Regions from separate parts of the Homo sapiens genome. Here regions 1, 2 and 4 are each linked to region 3. Evidence: promoter capture Hi-C in 16 types of primary human blood cells and fetal thymus (Javierre and others, 2016). All regions are on one chromosome and are shown on one strand. The core of a region is centred on a gene start or on the middle of the fragment in contact, and the rest is flanking DNA. Distances in the headings are between cores, read along the strand shown.

Region 1 (4,356 bases), core at 91-2,590, 420 kb before region 3:
TCACATTGATTAAAAGCTTCCATTCTATTGGTGTCTCCATACATATGACATTTCACAGGTGTGACTTATTTCTGAGAGAACTAATAGGAGAAGATAGGAAGCAGGGAGAAGAAAGAAAGGAGAACTGAAGAAAGTAAGTGCAAGGACACTAGCTAGAAAGAGATTCTGTATTTATGAAAGCATGCTGACCCTGTTTCTAAAAGATTCAGCAGATCTTCATGGCCTGGCAGGGACCTAGAAACTTGAGCCCAGCAGGTAGAATAGCCTTCAGGGACTTAATCAGACTGGGTCTCCGACAAGTACTCAGCTTCCTTCCCACCTCCCAGGTCTGGCCACACCCCACCTTCCCAGCTCCCCACTTGCACCCATCAGCTGCTGTGGCCTTAGCTACTTGTAAATGTACCAAAAATGGGTGTTCCAAGCTAAGCTGTCATGTTCTTACAGTAACTTAGGTGAAGTAAGTGAATCCATTGCTGCCATTAACCTTTCCACATCATAATGGAATGTTTTTCTTCAAAACAGTATCGCGCTTACTATGGAGCATTTAAGGATGTCAAGGAGAAAAACAGGACCTCTGAAGAAGCAGAAGACCTCCGAGCCTTGCGATTTCTATCTGTGATTTCAATTGTGGACCCTTGGATTTTTATCATTTTCAGATCTCCAGTATTTCGGATATTTTTTCACAAGATTTTCATTAGACCTCTTAGGTACAGGAGCCGGTGCAGCAATTCCACTAACATGGAATCCAGTCTGTGACAGTGTTTTTCACTCTGTGGTAAGCTGAGGAATATGTCACATTTTCAGTCAAAGAACCATGATTAAAAAAAAAAAGACAACTTACAATTTAAATCCTTAAAAGTTACCTCCCATAACAAAAGCATGTATATGTATTTTCAAAAGTATTTGATATCTTAACAATGTGTTACCATTCTATAGTCATGAACCCCTTCAGTGCATTTTCATTTTTTTATTAACAGCAACTAAAATTTTATATATTGTAACCAGTGTTAAAAGTCTTAAAAAACAATGGTATTAATTGTCCCTACATTTGTGCTTGGTGGCCCTATTTTTTTTTTTTAGAGAGGCCTTGAGACATACAGGTCTTTTAAAATACAGTAGAAACACCACTGTTTACGATTATACGATGGACATTCATAAAAAGCATAATTTCTTACCCTATTCATTTTTTGGTGAAACCTGATTCATTGATTTTATATCATTGCCGATGTTTAGTTCATTTCTTTGCCAATTGATCTAAGCATAGCCTGAATTATGATGTTCCTCAGAGAAGTGAGGTGGGAAATATGACCAGGTCAGGCAGTTGGAGGGGCTTCCCCAGCCACCATCGGGGAGTACTTGCTGCCTCAGGTGGAGACCTGAAGCTGTAACTAGATGCAGAGCAAGATATGACTATAGCCCACAACCCAAAGAAGCAAAAATTCGTTTTTATCTTTTGAAATCCAGTTTCTTTTGTATTGAGTCAAGGGTGTCAGTAGGAATCAAAAGTTGGGGGTGGGTTGCAAAATGTTCTTTCAGTTTTTAGAACCTCCATTTTATAAAAGAATTATCCTATCAATGGATTCTTTAGTGGAAGGATTTATGCTTCTTTGAAAACCAGTGTGTGACTCACTGTAGAGCCATGTTTACTGTTTGACTGTGTGGCACAGGGGGGCATTTGGCACAGCAAAAAGCCCACCCAGGACTTAGCCTCAGTTGACGATAGTAACAATGGCCTTAACATCTACCTTAACAGCTACCTATTACAGCCGTATTCTGCTGTCCGTGGAGACGGTAAGATCTTAGGTTCCAAGATTTTACTTCAAATTACACCTTCAAAACTGGAGCAGCATATAGCCGAAAAGGAGCACAACTGAGCACTTTAATAGTAATTTAAAAGTTTTCAAGGGTCAGCAATATGATGACTGAAAGGGAAAAGTGGAGGAAACGCAGCTGCAACTGAAGCGGAGACTCTAAACCCAGCTTGCAGGTAAGAGCTTTCACCTTTGGTAAAAGAACAGCTGGGGAGGTTCAAGGGGTTTCAGCATCTCTGGAGTTCCTTTGTATCTGACAATCTCAGGACTCCAAGGTGCAAAGCCTGCTGCATTTGCGTGATCTCAAGACCTCCAGCCAGAAGTCCCTTCCAAATATAAGAGTACTCATGTTTATTTATTTCCAACTGAGCAGCAACCTCCTTTGTTTCACTTATGTTTTTTCCAGTATCTGAGATAATATAAAGCTGGGTAATTTTTTATGTAATTTTTTGGTATAGCAAAACTGTGAAAAAGCCAAATTAGGCATACAAGGAGTATGATTTAACAGTATGACATGATGAAAAAAATACAGTTGTTTTTGAAATTTAACTTTTGTTTGTACCTTCAATGTGTAAGTACATGCATGTTTTATTGTCAGAGGAAGAACATGTTTTTTGTATTCTTTTTTTGGAGAGGTGTGTTAGGATAATTGTCCAGTTAATTTGAAAAGGCCCCAGATGAATCAATAAATATAATTTTATAGTATTTTGCAGAGGAAATTACTTTTCTTTAAATGAAAGAAAAGGGCTTGGCTTTCTTTTTAGTAGACAGTTGCCAGCAATATTTCATTGTCTGGCAGTTTCCTAGTGTGGATTTTTATATACTGTCCGATTAACACTTACATTACTTTAAACAAGCTTTCATTACTTTACTTACATTTCATTACTTTACATTACTTTAAACAAGCTTAGGTAAGTCCTTAGACTCACCTAAGGACCTAGTGCTCCTTTTTGTTTCATACAAAATGTAGATATACCATCTGGATGAAGTCTGTGTTGAGTTAAAACCAACTCTTCGGTAATCTGTATAGATTTATTCATTAATTCATTAAATAATTTACAGAGACCTTGTGCCAAGCAGTTGATTAGGGGCTGAGGAAAGGAATAAAAATAAGACTCAATCATGGTTCATGAGTTGCTCGTTGTCCACTGGGGTAGAGAGGAATGTCAACAGTTAGGATACAGCATAGAAATTCTCCATAGTATTGCGAGTACGCATTTACTATTAGAAGAGGAGGCCCAAACTAGGGACCACGTGTAGGGTTGTCAGGAGAACTTCACAGGAAGAAGATGCATTGAAAGTCAAGTATTGAAAACGAGTAGGAATTTTGACTCTGAAAACTGAAAAGAACACAGAGAAAGTTTACATAAGAGAAAATACATATGGTTAATAAATGTAGAAAAATATTCAGCCTAATCAAGGAAATGCAAAAATAAAACCAAATTGTATATCAACAACAAGCAACAACAACAACAAAAAACCTATGACTCTCAATAACAGAGGTTATTCAGAGAAGAACATTCATGTTCCCCTGGCGAGTTCGTAAATGTGTATACCCTTTCTTGATAGCAACCCAACAGTGTATCAAGAACCTAAAGCGTTCTTTGCTGTTGTTCCAGTAATTCCACTCTAGCATTCTCTTGCAGAGAATAATCAGTAGTCCTGGACAAGCAGCAGTAGCAACACCTGAAACTTACTACAAATGCAAATTCTCCAGCTCCACGTCAGACCTGTTGAATCAGAATCTCTTGGGTGGGGCCAGCAATCTGGGCTTTAACATGCCCTCCAGGTGATTCTCATGCATGCTAATATTTGAGAACCACTGCTCTACACAAAACAAAAAAAGAAAAGAAAAGAAAAATACCAAAAAAAGACAAGTAAATATGTGATAGACTATGTTTCTCTGACCTCTGATTCTCAGATCCTTTCAGTTGCAGATAATCCCTCACACCTGAACTTCCACAGTGTTTTTATCTGTAATGTTCTCAGCAAAGTTACAGCTTTGTAAACTAGTTCAACCATTGTGGAAGTCAGTGTGGCAATTCCTCAGGGATCTAGAACTAGAAATACCATTTCACCCAGCCATCCCATTACCGGGTATATACCCAAAGGATTATAAATCATGCTGCTATAAAAACACATGCACACGTATGTTTATAGTGGCACTATTCACAAGAGCAAATACTTGGAACCAACCTAAATGTCCAACAATGATAGACTGGATTAAGAAAATGTGGCACATATACACCATGGAATACTATGCAGCCATAAAGAATGATGAGTTCATGTCCTTTGTAGGGACATGGATGAAACTGGAAACCATCATTCTCAGCAAACTATCGCAAAGACAAAAATCCAAACACCACATGTTCTCACTCATAGGTGGGAATTGAACAATGAGAACACATGGACACAGGAAGGGGAACATCACACACCGGGGACTGTTGTGGGGTGGGGGGAGCTGGGAGAGATAGCATTAGGAGATATACCTAATGTAAATGACGAGTTAATGGGTGCAGCACACCAACATGGCACAGGTATACAT
Region 2 (4,353 bases), core at 291-2,790, 400 kb before region 3:
GAGTTGTATCACTGTAGTAGGCAGCTTCTAAAAGAGCTACCAATGATCCCGGTCTTCAGGTCTCCAGGTATTCATGCCCTTGGGTAATTCTTTCCCTGCAAGCATGATCTGGACCTACAGACTTGCTTCTAAGGTGTGGAATACAGCAGAAAAACATCTGGAAAGTTACACCTTTCCAAATAAGCCTTGGTTGCTTGCTCGCTCCGATGGAAACCAGCTGCTGTGCTGTGAGCTGTATTGTGGAGAGGCTCATATGGCAGAAAATGGAGGGAGGCCACTGGCCAACAGCCAGCAAGGAATAGAAGCTCTTAGTCCCACAACCCAGGAGGAACCAAATCCTCCAACAACCACATGAATGTTCTTGGAAGTGGATCCTTCCTTCCAAGTACAGCTTTGAGCCGACTGCTACCCCAGCCAATGTCTTGACTGCAGCCTTATGAGAGACCTGAGCTAGGGGACCCAGCTAAGCTGCACCCAGATTCCTCACCCACAGAAATCGTGAGGTGAGAAAATGTTGTTTCATGCTGCTACATTTTGGGGTGATTTTTTTCAGCAGTCATAGATAACTAATATAATTCATTGAATTATAATTAAATTAATGGGCATCCCATTATATATGAATCCATAGCATATTTTGTTGACAAATATGATACAAGAAATATTTATAAGCTCTGATTATATACTAGGCTACAAGAAAAATCTCAATAAATATAAGAAAGCAGAAATTAACAGTTTATTTTCTTCGATTAGGAAATACATTTTTATTTAAGTTAAAACCAAAAAGTCTCTCTGATTACATGGAAATTTTTCTTCTTTTTGTATGCATTATACATACTAAATTGTGTGTACAACATGCATATGCAGTTAAATAGTAATTATAAAGTAAATATCCATGTAGACATTGTGCAGGTCAAGAAACGGAATACTGCCAGTACCAGAAGCCTCCTGTGTGCCTTCCCTGATCACAGTCCCTCCCCCTCACCGAGATAAACCCTGTTCCGACTTTTAAGAAATCATGCTTTTGCTTTTCTTTATCTTACCCCATGTGTGCATCATAATATATGTATTCAGTGTCTTTTTCTCAAGCTTAGTAATGTGTCTTAGCTTGGATTCCTCACATGCAGTCTAGGACAAAGAGTCAGGTGCATGTGACCTGTGGAGCTCCTGCTTTCGGGAGAAAAGCGGTGAAAGCAGCAGGACAGGGCAGGGACGGAATCAAGGCAAGGATGAGGTCTCAGCTCTGCCTGATCTCAAGGGGGGGCTCTGGAGCTTGAATAGCACCACACTGTTGGTCCCACCAAGACACTTGTGAAAGCCTGTTACTAAGTTTTTGGCCCACGTGTTCCCGGTGGTACCCTTTGAGCCAAGGGCAATTTTCCAGAAAAGGGGCCAGCTCTGAGCCATTAGAAACCATAACCCACAGGGGCTGGGGGCAATGGCTTGGAAAAGGAGATCTGGATGATATTCACCATATAGTATGTTTGTGAGATTCATACTTTTTGTACGTGTAGCTGAGTTCCTATATTTTCATGGCCAAATAGTATTCCATGGTATGAATATATCGCATGCTGTCAATGGACATTTGGGGTATTTCTAGATTTGCCTACTAGAAATAATGCTGTTTTATGATTCAAGGGGCAAAAAAAGAAAAGAAAAATAAACAATGCTGTTTTAACTGTTCTTATTATGTCTTGTGTTGGACATGTGTACGAGTATCTCTAAGGCATACATCTAGGAGTGGGATTGCAGGGTTATAGGATATGTGCACCTTTTATTATATCATAAAAATTGTTTTCCAATTTACACTAACACCAGCATTGTTTTCATTGCTCTACATCTTTGCTAACACTTGTATTGTTAGATTTTTAGTTTTAGCCATTTTGGTAAGTTTGTAATGGTATTTCATTGAGGTTTTAATGTATTTTTCATATTAATAATGATGATATTGCACACCTTCTCATACATTTATTGGCTGTTTGGAAATTCTAGTTTATAAAGCTTCTGTTCAAGTCTTTTGCCTTTTTAAAAAATATAATGTTTGTTTTTCATATTGATTTATAGATGTCCTAACTACTGTTACTTTGTCAGTTTTATGTGTTGGAAAAATCTTTTCCCATTCTTTAATCTGTCTTTTCACTCTCTTTTTGATGACTTTTAATTAATAGAAATTTTTATTTTATTAGAATCTAATTTCTTAAACTTTTCTTTTATGGCTAAGCTTTTCATGTTTTATTTGAGAAATGTTTTCTAAACCTAAAATCATGAAATATTTTTCTATACTACTTTATAAAAGCTTTATAGTTTTGCCTTTCACTCTTGAATTTGAACCCACCTATGATTTATTTGGTGTATGGTGTGATATAAATATCCAGTTTTGTACTTTCACCATATAAATAACCACTTGTCCAAGTATCATTTATCAAAAAGTTTATCTTTTCCCCATTGATCTTAAATATCATATCTGTCACATATGAAGTTTCCATATTTGTATGTTTGTTTCTATTCCATTGGCCTGTTGTCTTAGGTACATTAATGCTTCCACCTAGCTCTCTTTGAAGGGGGCCCTTTTAATCTTAGTGCTTTAGTTCCACCAAAACCTGCTGGGATTTTCACTGGAATTGCACTGAATCTATTGATTAATTTTGTATACTTTTCAATTTATTTATGTCCTTTTCAATGTCTCTTTATAAAAGTTTCAAAATTTTACTGAAGTATAACATGCATACAGAGAAATATACGAATTATAAGTAGACAGTGAAATGAATTTTCACAAAGCAATACACCTAAGTTACTAATATCCAGATTAAAAAAAAAAAAAACAAAAAACACAGAATCCCAAACCCCTCCAAAATCCCTTTTTTAGCTACTGACTTCACCCACAAGAGGAAACCACCTTGAGTTCTAATACATGAATTTTGTCCACTTTTGAACTTTATATAAATGGAATCAGTATGTACTTGTTTTCTTTCACTCAGCAGTATGCTTGTGAAATCCGTCCGTGTTGTTCAGAGTTATATTTTGTTTATTCTCTTTGCTGTAGTGTTCTACTGTACGAATTCCACCGTATGAATTTACCACAATATATTAATCTATCTATTGCAGATGGACATTTGAGTTATTTCTAATTGAACCTATTACAAATAGTAATAAGCAGCCGGGCGCACTGGCCCATGCCTGTAATCCCAGCATTTTGGGAGGCCAAGGTGGGTGGATCACCTGAGGTCAGGAGTTTGAGAACAGCCTGGCCAACATGGTGAAAACCCGTCTCTACTAAAAATACAAAAAAATAAAGTTAGCCAGGTGTGGTGGCAGGCACCTGTAATCCCAGCTACTCAGGAGGCTGAGGCAAGAGAATCGCTTGAACTCGGGAAGCGGAGGTTGCAGTGAGCTAAGATCACGCTACTGAACTCCAGCCTGGGCAACAAGAGCGAAACTCTGTCTCAAAGAAAAAAAAAAAAAGTAATAAGCATCCTTTCACACATCTTTTGGGAACATACATATGCATTTCTATTAAGGATATAACTGAATGTAATTGCTAGGTCATAAGTTTTGCCCTTAGTAAATACTGCCAAGGGGTCTTCCAAAGTGGATTGTGTCAGTTCATACTTCCACAGCAATGTATAAAGGCCGAGTTGATCCACATGCTCATCAATACTTCCTATTGTCTTTCTAGTTCGGTTTAGCCGTTCTGGGGGTATCGAGTGGTATCACATTGTGGCTTTAATGTGCATATCCCTGATCCACACCTTTTCCTATGTTTATTGTCCTTTGCATATCCCTGTCTGTGAAGGATCTGTCCAGGTCTTTTCTCCACTTTTCTATTCAGTTATCTGTCTTTTGCTTATTGAATTTCAAGAGTTTCATTATCTGAATCTATTAGGTTCTTGACTTTGTGACACTACATGGCAAAATTTTGCCTAGTGTGGAAATCCTAATGCATCCAAATCTATTTGGTTCCTGGAGTTCAAAATGAAAATGTAGATAATGAAGGATACCTGAAGTCACTGTAGGTCTATTCCTGCTGATTCTGACTGATGTTACCTTATCTTCTGGTGAGCTTGGGTATTATGAGAACATGTATTCTGGAGATTCTCTGATGCCTAAAATGATGGTGCCTTCCTCCAGAGGGGATGTGCACTCTCCAGGCCCCTAGGGTCAGTCCAGGACTTCTTTAAACCAGTTCGGGGCACAGGGTTTTTTGGACCATCCAGGTAAGGTGATTTGGAGTTACAAACTCACAGAGACTGCCAGCACGTGCTTGTCACTTCGCAGAGATCAGGTTTTTCTTTACTTTCCTTCCTCTGCAGTGTTCAACACAAAAGAATTTTTTTTTCCCTTAAGATCTCCTGGGGG
Region 3 (4,637 bases), core at 1,886-4,385:
TGTGGTAACCCAAGGCAGATGTGGTAAGAGGGACAGGCAACAGGAAGAAAAGATAAAACTATTACCAAAACAATCAACGGGACTGTGCAGCTCACTGGATATTGTAAACAGAACCAGAGAAGATTTTAACTTGTATTTCCAAACATCTGGTGGAAATTTAGTTTTTAACTTAGTTTCTAGCAATATTTCCTAACTTGTTTTTTAAGTGCTTAGGATCTGTGCCTCCCACGAATCCCCAATGAACATTATTCACTAAACTATAGCTCTTCAGGGCAGGGATAATGCCATAGTTATTTCTGTGTCCCAAACACTCTGGTCAACGTGCAGAGTGGTTACACTTGTTGAATGAATGATTTGCACCATTTATCTCCCCTTTTCTTTCTCCATTTTTTTTCTTTTCCCTCTCATGCTGTTTCTCTGTGTATGTCTGTCTATATGCTTGCCTCTAATTTTCTCTGCATGTCTATTCATCAGTGCCACCTCTCCTCCCTTCTCCCCCGATCCTCATCCCTTCCACTACTGGCCCTATTGTTTCACTTATAGAATTGGAATTGATAGTCTCTGTTCTTAAATAGACAACTTTTTTTTTTTTTTTTTTTTTTTTGCTTAGGCTCCCTCAAATCATGAAATAAGTAGACCATTCTAAATTTCTAAATTTCTGTTAAAACTGTTTTTTTAACTATATGATCCTCAATTTACTTTTTTATTATTATTATTATTTTGAGGCAGACTCTCACTTTGTCACACAGGCTAGAGTGCACTGATGCAATCATGGCTTACTGCAGCCTCGATCACTGAAGCAGTGGGCTGGGAAAGGCAGACCCACCCTTAATCTGGGTAGGCACAATCTAATCACCTGCCAGCATGGCTAGAATATAAGCAGGCAGAAAAACGTGAGAGACTGGCCTAGCCTTCCAGCCTACATCTTTCTCCCATGCTGGATGCTTCCTGCCCTCAAATACCAAACTCCAAGTTCTTCAGTTTCGGAACTCAGACTGGCTCTCCTTGCTCCTCAGCCTGCAGACAGCCTATTGCGGGACCTTGTGATCATGTGAATTAATACTTAATAAACTCCCTTTATATATATATTCCATTGGTTCTATCCCTCTAGAGAACCCGGACTAATACAGACCGGGTCTCCAAGCTGGTCTCGAACTCCTGGGCTCACTCCATCCTGCCACCTCAGTGTCCCAAGTAGCTGAGACCACAGGCGCACACCATCACACCCAGCTTTTTTCTTTTTTTAATTTTTTTTGTAGAGACGGGGGTTTCACTATGTTGCCCGTGCTGGTCTTGAACTCCTGGACTCAAGAGATCCTCCCACCTCAGCCTCCCAAAGTGCTGGGATTACAGGCTGGAGCCACCACACCCAGCCCAATTTACTATTTTTCAAGGTTGAGTCTGAAAAGAAACACAGATAGCCACTCTCGTTCTAAAAGAAAAAGAAAGGGGTTTAACAGAATTTTATGTTAGGGAAGTATTTGAATATGAGGGTATTGTGAAAGAGGAAAAGTTTAATCACTAGTTAGAAGAAAAAGAAAATAAATGCAAAGAATTTAAAGTTCTATTTTAAGCAGAACTCCAAAAAGGTTATTAAGGAAAAAAAAAGTAAAAGTTGAAGAGTTCAACATGTACTTTTATTCCAGTATCCAAATCTCCAGAATGTAGCTGAAAATGTTACATTGGACATCTTCTTTCCGTAAAGAATATTTTATTTTAAAGTCACTTATTTCTATCTTATTTTTTAAATGTTTAATCTCGGTGTTGCGTTATATTTCTAATCAGAAGAAAAATGACCCTTTTCCTTTTAAGTACTTGATTGTGTGTCCTTTGTAATGATTGAAGGTAAAGGACTTTTCAATGTCTCAGTTGTAAAGTAGCAATTTTCTTTCAACTTCCCTTAGTTTCCTAGATAACACTCACCTCAACTCCCAAATCACTCAGCAAAACAACAAAATCCAAGAATGTAAAGTAGTGAAAGAGAAACCTTTCATAATATTTAAATGCATCTTTCCTTTGACATGGTATCATGCCCCTAAACACATAAAATGGTATTTCTGATAATAAATTAATAGCAAAATCCACTTAGGAATAACATGGATGCCTAACCCTTAATTTTGTATAAAACGTAATTTTTATCAACAGAGTCAACCAAAAAGTGGCTTTGACAAGAGTAATCACATTGAAATACTAGATACTGAAGATAATGGAAAACTGTAAGTTTCTCTCAATTTTTTGCTCAAGAAACCACATCTCTTACAGAAGGAAATGATCATAATCCGCTTGTAATTAAACTTGTGCACTGAAGAATAAGGACCTTCCTCCCAATTCGTACCAGCTTAACGGGTGTCACGATAAGAGAATCTCATTACATTCGAGAAAAAGAGCACACAGGACCAGAAACCAGAGGGCAACTGCAGTCCCAAAGACATCAGGTAGTTGGGCTTACACACAGAAAAACCGCAAGCAGCCATTCTTCCGCCTAACATCGAAATCTGAGATCAGCCCACAAACGTCTTAGCCAGAAAGGCTGGCGAAATGCACGCAGCACAGGTACTGGGTACACAAGTTCCTGGTCAAGAGAGAAGTGAGAAAGATCCAGGTTCTGTGAAAATAGCAAATACTGGCAGGGCATTATACACTGTGCACACTCTCCCCGGGCAGATAAGACCAACAAAGATGCATAAACCCACTCAACCGCGTGCACCCAACCCCTCTCCTGGTCCGAGGCACCGGAGGGCGCGGCGACGTCCAGGCTGCCGTGGAGGCCCGGTCCACGCCAAGCCAGACTCAGTCCCGGCCACCGGGCAGCAGCACCGGAGTCTCATTCCCGGTGGGAAGAGATGCAAGGACGCACCCCCAGCCGCTCACCCGCCAGGGCGTGCGGGACAGTGCACGCCGCGGAGGGCGCCGGGACCCTCAGCACCAACGCGCACATCGCTCACCTGGCAGAAGCACCTCTGTGCCGCTGTCTCCGGGGGCTGCTCCTCTCCGTGGCCCGAGCTGAGCAGCCACACGGCGCCCAGGAGGCCAAACAAGAATCCCCAGCCGCGGCCCATTGCAGCTCCGGCAGCTTGTCGCCCCACGCTTGGGAGGCCAGTCCGCACGCTCGGTCGCGGGCCGTGCGCCCTCAGATGAAGCCCGTGCGGGCCGGCCCCAGCGGCGCCCCACCTCCGGGCCGCCTCCCAGGCCCGCCTCGGCCCTCCTGCCTCTCAGCGATCGCCACCTCGCGACCCAGCCTGTGGACGTGCCGCGGCGCCCGCGCCGGCAGCCCGGGGCCTCGGACCGGTTCCTTCCCGCCGCGTGAGGCTGACGCACCGACCAGCTTCCCGGCTCGGCCCCGCCCGGTCCGCTGCGCCCGCGCCCGTCCCCGCCCCCGGCTCCCTGACGCCCCCGGCCTGGAGACGCAACCCGACGCGCACAACCCCAGACCCTGCGCGGGAGTCGGGGGTCCTTCCAGTTCCCAGAGCGAGAGCGAAAGCCGGAGGGGCCTGTGTTTTCCTGCGGGGTTGGGGGGCGGGGGGTGCCCGCCCCGCGCCGCCCCGCCCAGCCCCAGCCCGCTCACTCCCGGCCAATCCTTCCGTATCTCAATGCGAGACAATCAAATCGTACGAATTACGTGTCCACCGTGTTCCCGGCGGAGTCTTAAAGCTGAAAGGGATATTAGAGAGCATCTAGACCAGGGCAGCATATGTCATTTATATTTTTAGTAGCCACAGCAAAAGAGTAAAAATAACAGGTACATTTTATTTTTAAAATATTTTTATTTAACCCCGAATGTGCAAAATATTATTTCAAAATATAACCAACATTAAATTTATTCATAAGATATTTGACTTTTTTTGTCTTTGAAATCCAGTGTGTATTCGATGCGAACTAGACCCATTTCATAGTCAAATGTGGCTGGCTAGTGCCCACTGTATTAGACAGCGAGGGTGGAAGCCACCCGCTCATATCATAGGAAGAAACAGGCCTAGAGAAGTGAGGTAAGGTGAGCAAGGATTGGAGGTCCTCTGATACCCAGTCCTGGTCTTTTAACATTCAGAGTTGGGACTAGTCTATCCGCTTTTTTTTTTTCCAGACAGGGTCTCCCTGGGTCACCCAGGCTGGCCTGCAATGATGCGATCGCAGCTCACTGCAACCTCGAACTCCTGGGCTCAAGCGATCCTCCCACCTAAGCCTCCTGAGTAGCATGAACTACAGGCGTGCGCCACCACGCCTGGCTAATTTTATTTTTAGTAGAAACGAGGTTTCACCATGTTGCCCAGGCTGGTCTCAAACTCCTCAAGAGCGATTCTCCCGCCTCAGCCTCCCAAAGTGCTGGGATTACTTTTTTTTTTTTTTTCGAGGCGGAGTCTCGCTCTGTCGCCCAGGCTGGAGTGCAGTGGCGTCATCTTGGCTTACTGCAATCTCTGCCTCCCAGGTTCAAGAGATTCTCCTGCCTGAGCTTCCCCAGTAGCTGGGATTACAGGCGTAAGCCACCACACACTCGGCTAATTTTTGTATTTTCAGTAGAGAAGGGGTTTTGCCATGTTGGCCAGGCTGGTCTCTAGCTCTGAGCTCAGGTGACCCACCCATCTCAGCCTCCCAAAGTGCTAGAATTGCAGACATGAGCCACCGCACCTGGCCTTACTTTT
Region 4 (4,350 bases), core at 818-3,317, 430 kb after region 3:
TGGCTTGCAGATGGTCATCTTCTTGCTGTGTCTTCTTATGGCCTTTCCTCTGCGTGTGTGGGTGTGTGGGTGTGTCTCTCGTGTCTCTGTGTGCCCAAATTCCCTCCTCTTGTGAAGACACCAGTCAGACTGGATTAGGGAAGTTTAGGACCTACCCTAAATGTCTCAATTTAACTTTATCACCTCTTTTATAGGTCTTATCTTCAAATACTGTCACAATCTGAGGTATCAGGGCAAGGACTCCAACATAAGACTCTTAGCCTTTTTGCAAATTTTAATTCATGGAGGTAGCTTTTATATATTCTCAATTCTTTGCATCTCAATTTGGAGAAGAGACTTTAAATCACAGGCCATTTTATATCAACTCTTCCAAGTTTAATATTTTGGTGGATCTAGGCAATGCAGAATTTTATATGCTTAGGGAAAAATTTCTCTCTAGGTACTTAGCTAAGAAAAAAAATATTTGATATAACCTGCATAGATATGGAAGAAAAACCTTGCTAAATAAAATGGAGTATACAACCGTAAAACAGTTGTCTGAATTTTCAGTGTTGATTTTAGCTTAGTAGATACAATCAATTCCACACTGATTATAGCCATTCTATCAGATTATTAAAATCAAAAGAATATGTATTAACATAGTTGAAACTTTTAATATCAGCACAGTGTCATTCAAACTTTTCTATTTTCTCTTTCTACTCTACATATTTTCCATGATTTAAACCTGTGGTTTCTAAACCTGGCCTATAGTCAGAATCACCTGAGGAATTAAATTAAAAGATGGATTTTTTTTTTTTTTTTTGAGATGGAATCTCGCCCTGTCACCCAGGCTGGAGGGCCATGGTGTGATCTTGGCTCATTGCAACCTCCGCCTCCTGGGTTCATATGATTCTCCTGCCTCAGTCTCCCGAGTAGCTGGGATTACAGGTACCCACTACCATGCCCGGCTAATTTTTTGTATCTTTAGTAGAGACAGGGTTTCACCATGTTGACCAGGCTGGTCTCGAACTCCTGACCTCGTGATCTGCCTGCCTTGGCCTCCCAAAGTGCTGGGATTACAGGCGTGAGCCACCGCGCCCAGCAAAGATGGATTTTTTAAGATTCCTTCCCAAACTTAATAAACCAGTCTCTGAAGATAGGGTCCAGAAATATGTACTTTAAGTTCTTCAAGTTATATATCACAAAACACAGTCCTTGCATAAGTGATCACTGGTTCCCAACTAGTTAAAAACAGTTAATTCTCTAAATCTGATCATTTACCCAAGGTAAAAATATTTTCAGTATTTTTATGTATACATATTTACAAATTATGTATATATATTATTGTTCTAAAATGTTTGATTCATTATGATACACAAAAATAGAAAAATTGAAAGGGTGAAATAGAAGTGAATATGAATTCAAACATTTTCATTATAATACATCTAAATGTAGTGTCTGCATACCCTATTTTACTCTTTTTGAGACAGGGTCTCACTCCCATCTCCCAGGCTAGAGTGCAGTGCAGTGGAGCAATCACGGGTCACTGCAGCCTCGACTTCCCGGGCTCAGGTAATCCTCCCACTTCAGCTCCCAAGTAGCTGGGACTACAGGCATGCGCCACCATCCCCAGCTAATTTTTTGTATTTTTAGTAGAGATGGGGTTTCATCATGTTATCCAGGATGCTCTTGAACTCCTGGGCTCAAGCAATCCATCCACCTTGGCCTCCCAAAGTGCTGGGATTATAGGCATGAGCCACCCACCCGGCTGATGTAACATCTTTCTTTAAGACTCATATCAAGCATCAATTTCTCTGGAAAGCTTTTTACTTGACGTAGAAGTGGTCATTCCCATCTTTTTTTTTACCTAGTAAATATTAACTATTTGTTGAATTAATGAAATTAAAGTTTTGAAAAAATGTATTGAAAGAAAACAATTCACGTTACAAAAGAGAAGCACAGCGTTTAGAAGATGGCAAACAAATGTCAGACTGTCAAAATAGTTACTAGTCAGGAGGATTAACTAGCTATAAATAAAACAATCACGTGAGAATTTAAGCTCTAACGGGTTGAAATCAAAAGAGAAACTAAAATTTTTTAAAAAAGAACAGAGAAAAAGGAGAAAAAGATTTGTGTAGTCAAAATTCATAATGCTAACAAGCACAGATGTAAACGCTTGAACATATGTTTTTTTAAAAAAGCAGAAGAAACACTTAAGAAACTAAAGTTACCAGACAATTGAGAAATTTATTTAGAAAATCATCAAACAGGAGGAATACATAGCAATAAAGTTGAGTGAGGAAATTTTACACAGGTTACAAAATAATCCAGGATATTAAGTATTATTGGCAACCTAAGCTTCATTATCTGCTCAAATCGTGTAAACAGTGAAGTTGCAGACTGTACAACAGTAGAAAAAGAACTGGGTTAAGGACTCAGGAGGCCTAGCCTAAAATTCCAGTTCACCCCTTAACCTCTCTGAGCCTCAGCTTATCATCTATAACATGAAGATATTGTCTCACTGCAGGGTTACAATGGGGATTAATAAAATAATGTATGTGAAAGTACTTTGTAAACTACAAAATCTCATGCCAAATTATGGCATTATTTTAATTTGTGGAATATTGTTTGAAGTTTCTAAATCCACATGCAGTAGTTACACACAGCTACATCAAGACTAACCGTGAAGAATCCTCAGCCATTTGGTAGAACTAAACACCATTTTCCCCACCAAGTCTTCTAAAATAAAAACCTTATGCCATGACAGCTGGAGAAGGAAGCCCAGAGAATCAAAAAACAAATACATACTAAGACCTGAAGGTAAGATCGCTACAGACACACAATGACTGGCAAGCTAACTCAATGCTCTGATTTACTTCCTGGTGTTATTAGTAAAAGGTAGGTCTTTTTATGTGAAAATAGATCCTTAAGAGTCTGTTTTTACATTGAGTTGTATAGTTGTATGAACCAAGACAGAATAAGAAAGGTGGAATGACATGGTTTGGCCATGTCCCCACCCAAAATCTCATCTTGAACTGTAATTCAAATTGTAATCTTCACGTGTTGGGGGAGGAACCTCATGGGAGGTGAACAGAACACGCGGGTGGTTGCCCCATGCTATTCTGACAGTGAGTTCTCACGAGATCTAATGGTTTTATAAGGGGCTTTCCCCTCTTCGCTCTATATTTCTCTCTCCTCCTACCATGTGAAGAAGGACGAGTTTGCTTCCCTTTCCACCATGATTGTAAGTTTCCTGAGGCCTCCCCAGCCACGTGGAACTGTGAGTCAATTAAACCCCTTTCCTTTATAAATGACCAAGTCTTGGATATTTCTTCATAGCAGCATAAGAATGGACTAATATATGGAGACTAAGGATCTGTCTTAGTCCATCTAGGCTGCTGTAATAAAATACCATAAAGTTGGTAGCTTTTAACAATGGAAACTTATGTCTCACATCTCTGGAGACTGCCAAGTCTAAGATCAAGGCACCAGCAGATTTGGTGTCTGGTGAGGGTCCACTTTCTGGTTCATTGTGCCTTCTCACTGTGCCCTCACATGGTGGAAGTGGGGAAGGAGCAGGGTGTTAATGCGATTCACAGGACTCTGCCGTATGACCTTATCACTTCCCAAAGGCCCCACTTCCCCAATACCATCACCTAGAGGTTTAGTATTTCAACATACAAATTTTGGGGAGATATTAACCTTCAGTCCACTGTAGGAGCATAAGAAATTAAGTGCAACAGCTGGTTCAGTTAGGCCATATGTATTATGTCAGCAAAAAAGGGCCAGAAGCCAACAGTTCTGATACAAAAGTCTATCACTTCTACCTACAGCCCATAACTGCATAATGTCAGGCCTCTGAGCCCAAGCTGAGCCATCATATCCCCTGTGACCTGCAGGTATACATCCAGATGGCTTGAAGCAACTGAAGAACCACAAAAGATAACATTCCACCATTGTGATATGTTCCTGCCCCACCCTAACTGATCAACTGACCTTATGACAATACACCCTCCCTGCCCTTGTGATAATGCACTTTGTGATATTCCCCTGCTCTTAACAAGGTACTTTATAATATTCTCCCTGCCCTTGAGAATGTACTTTGTGAGATCCACCCCTGGCCCACCTATCCCAAACCTATAAGAACTAATGATAATCCCACCACAATTTGCTGACTCCTTTTTCAGACTCAGCCAACCTGCACCCAGGTGAAATAAACAGCCTTGTTGCTCACACAAAGCCTGTTGGTGGACTCTCTTCAAATGGACGTGCATGACATTTGGTGCCGAAGACCCGGGACAGGGGGACTCCTTTGGGAGACCAGCCCCCTGTCCTTGCCCTCACTCCGTGAGGAGATCCACCTATGACCTC

Evidence for each region. Contacts are between HindIII fragments. The CHiCAGO score rates a contact against its expected background, and 5 or more counts as called.
Region 1: a contact is called between a fragment that was not itself captured here and the fragment with the promoter of ERO1A in region 3, in 2 of 17 cell types (neutrophils and megakaryocytes). The highest score is 7.3, in neutrophils.
Region 2: a fragment that was not itself captured here is called in contact with the fragment with the promoter of ERO1A in region 3 in 3 of 17 cell types (neutrophils, megakaryocytes and monocytes); the score reaches 7.8 in neutrophils.
Region 4: a fragment that was not itself captured here is called in contact with the fragment with the promoter of ERO1A in region 3 in 1 of 17 cell types (M0 macrophages); the score reaches 5.3 in M0 macrophages.

What each region holds. Positions count from the first base shown.
Region 1 is chr14:52,274,209-52,278,564 of GRCh38, forward strand. PTGDR (prostaglandin D2 receptor) reads left to right here. Exons shown (of 2, transcript NM_000953.3): 2 at 523-2,516. The coding sequence ends at 756. Among named protein-coding and RNA genes, the nearest start is that of PTGDR, 8.7 kb to the left of the region's middle. The HindIII fragment of the contact is 2,652 bases long and covers 15-2,666 here.
Region 2 is chr14:52,290,413-52,294,765 of GRCh38, forward strand. No RefSeq gene overlaps it. Among named protein-coding and RNA genes, the nearest start is that of PTGER2, 22 kb to the right of the region's middle. The HindIII fragment of the contact is 912 bases long and covers 1,085-1,996 here.
Region 3 is chr14:52,692,423-52,697,059 of GRCh38, forward strand. ERO1A (endoplasmic reticulum oxidoreductase 1 alpha) reads right to left here and starts at 3,136. Exons shown (of 16, transcript NM_014584.3): 1 at 2,946-3,136. The coding sequence starts at 3,059. RefSeq lists enhancers at 2,661-3,162, 2,768-2,817 and a silencer at 3,068-3,607. The HindIII fragment of the contact is 13,242 bases long and covers 1-4,637 here.
Region 4 is chr14:53,124,918-53,129,267 of GRCh38, forward strand. The region is part of intron 1 of DDHD1 (DDHD domain containing 1); the gene reads right to left. Among named protein-coding and RNA genes, the nearest start is that of DDHD1, 26 kb to the right of the region's middle. The HindIII fragment of the contact is 536 bases long and covers 1,800-2,335 here.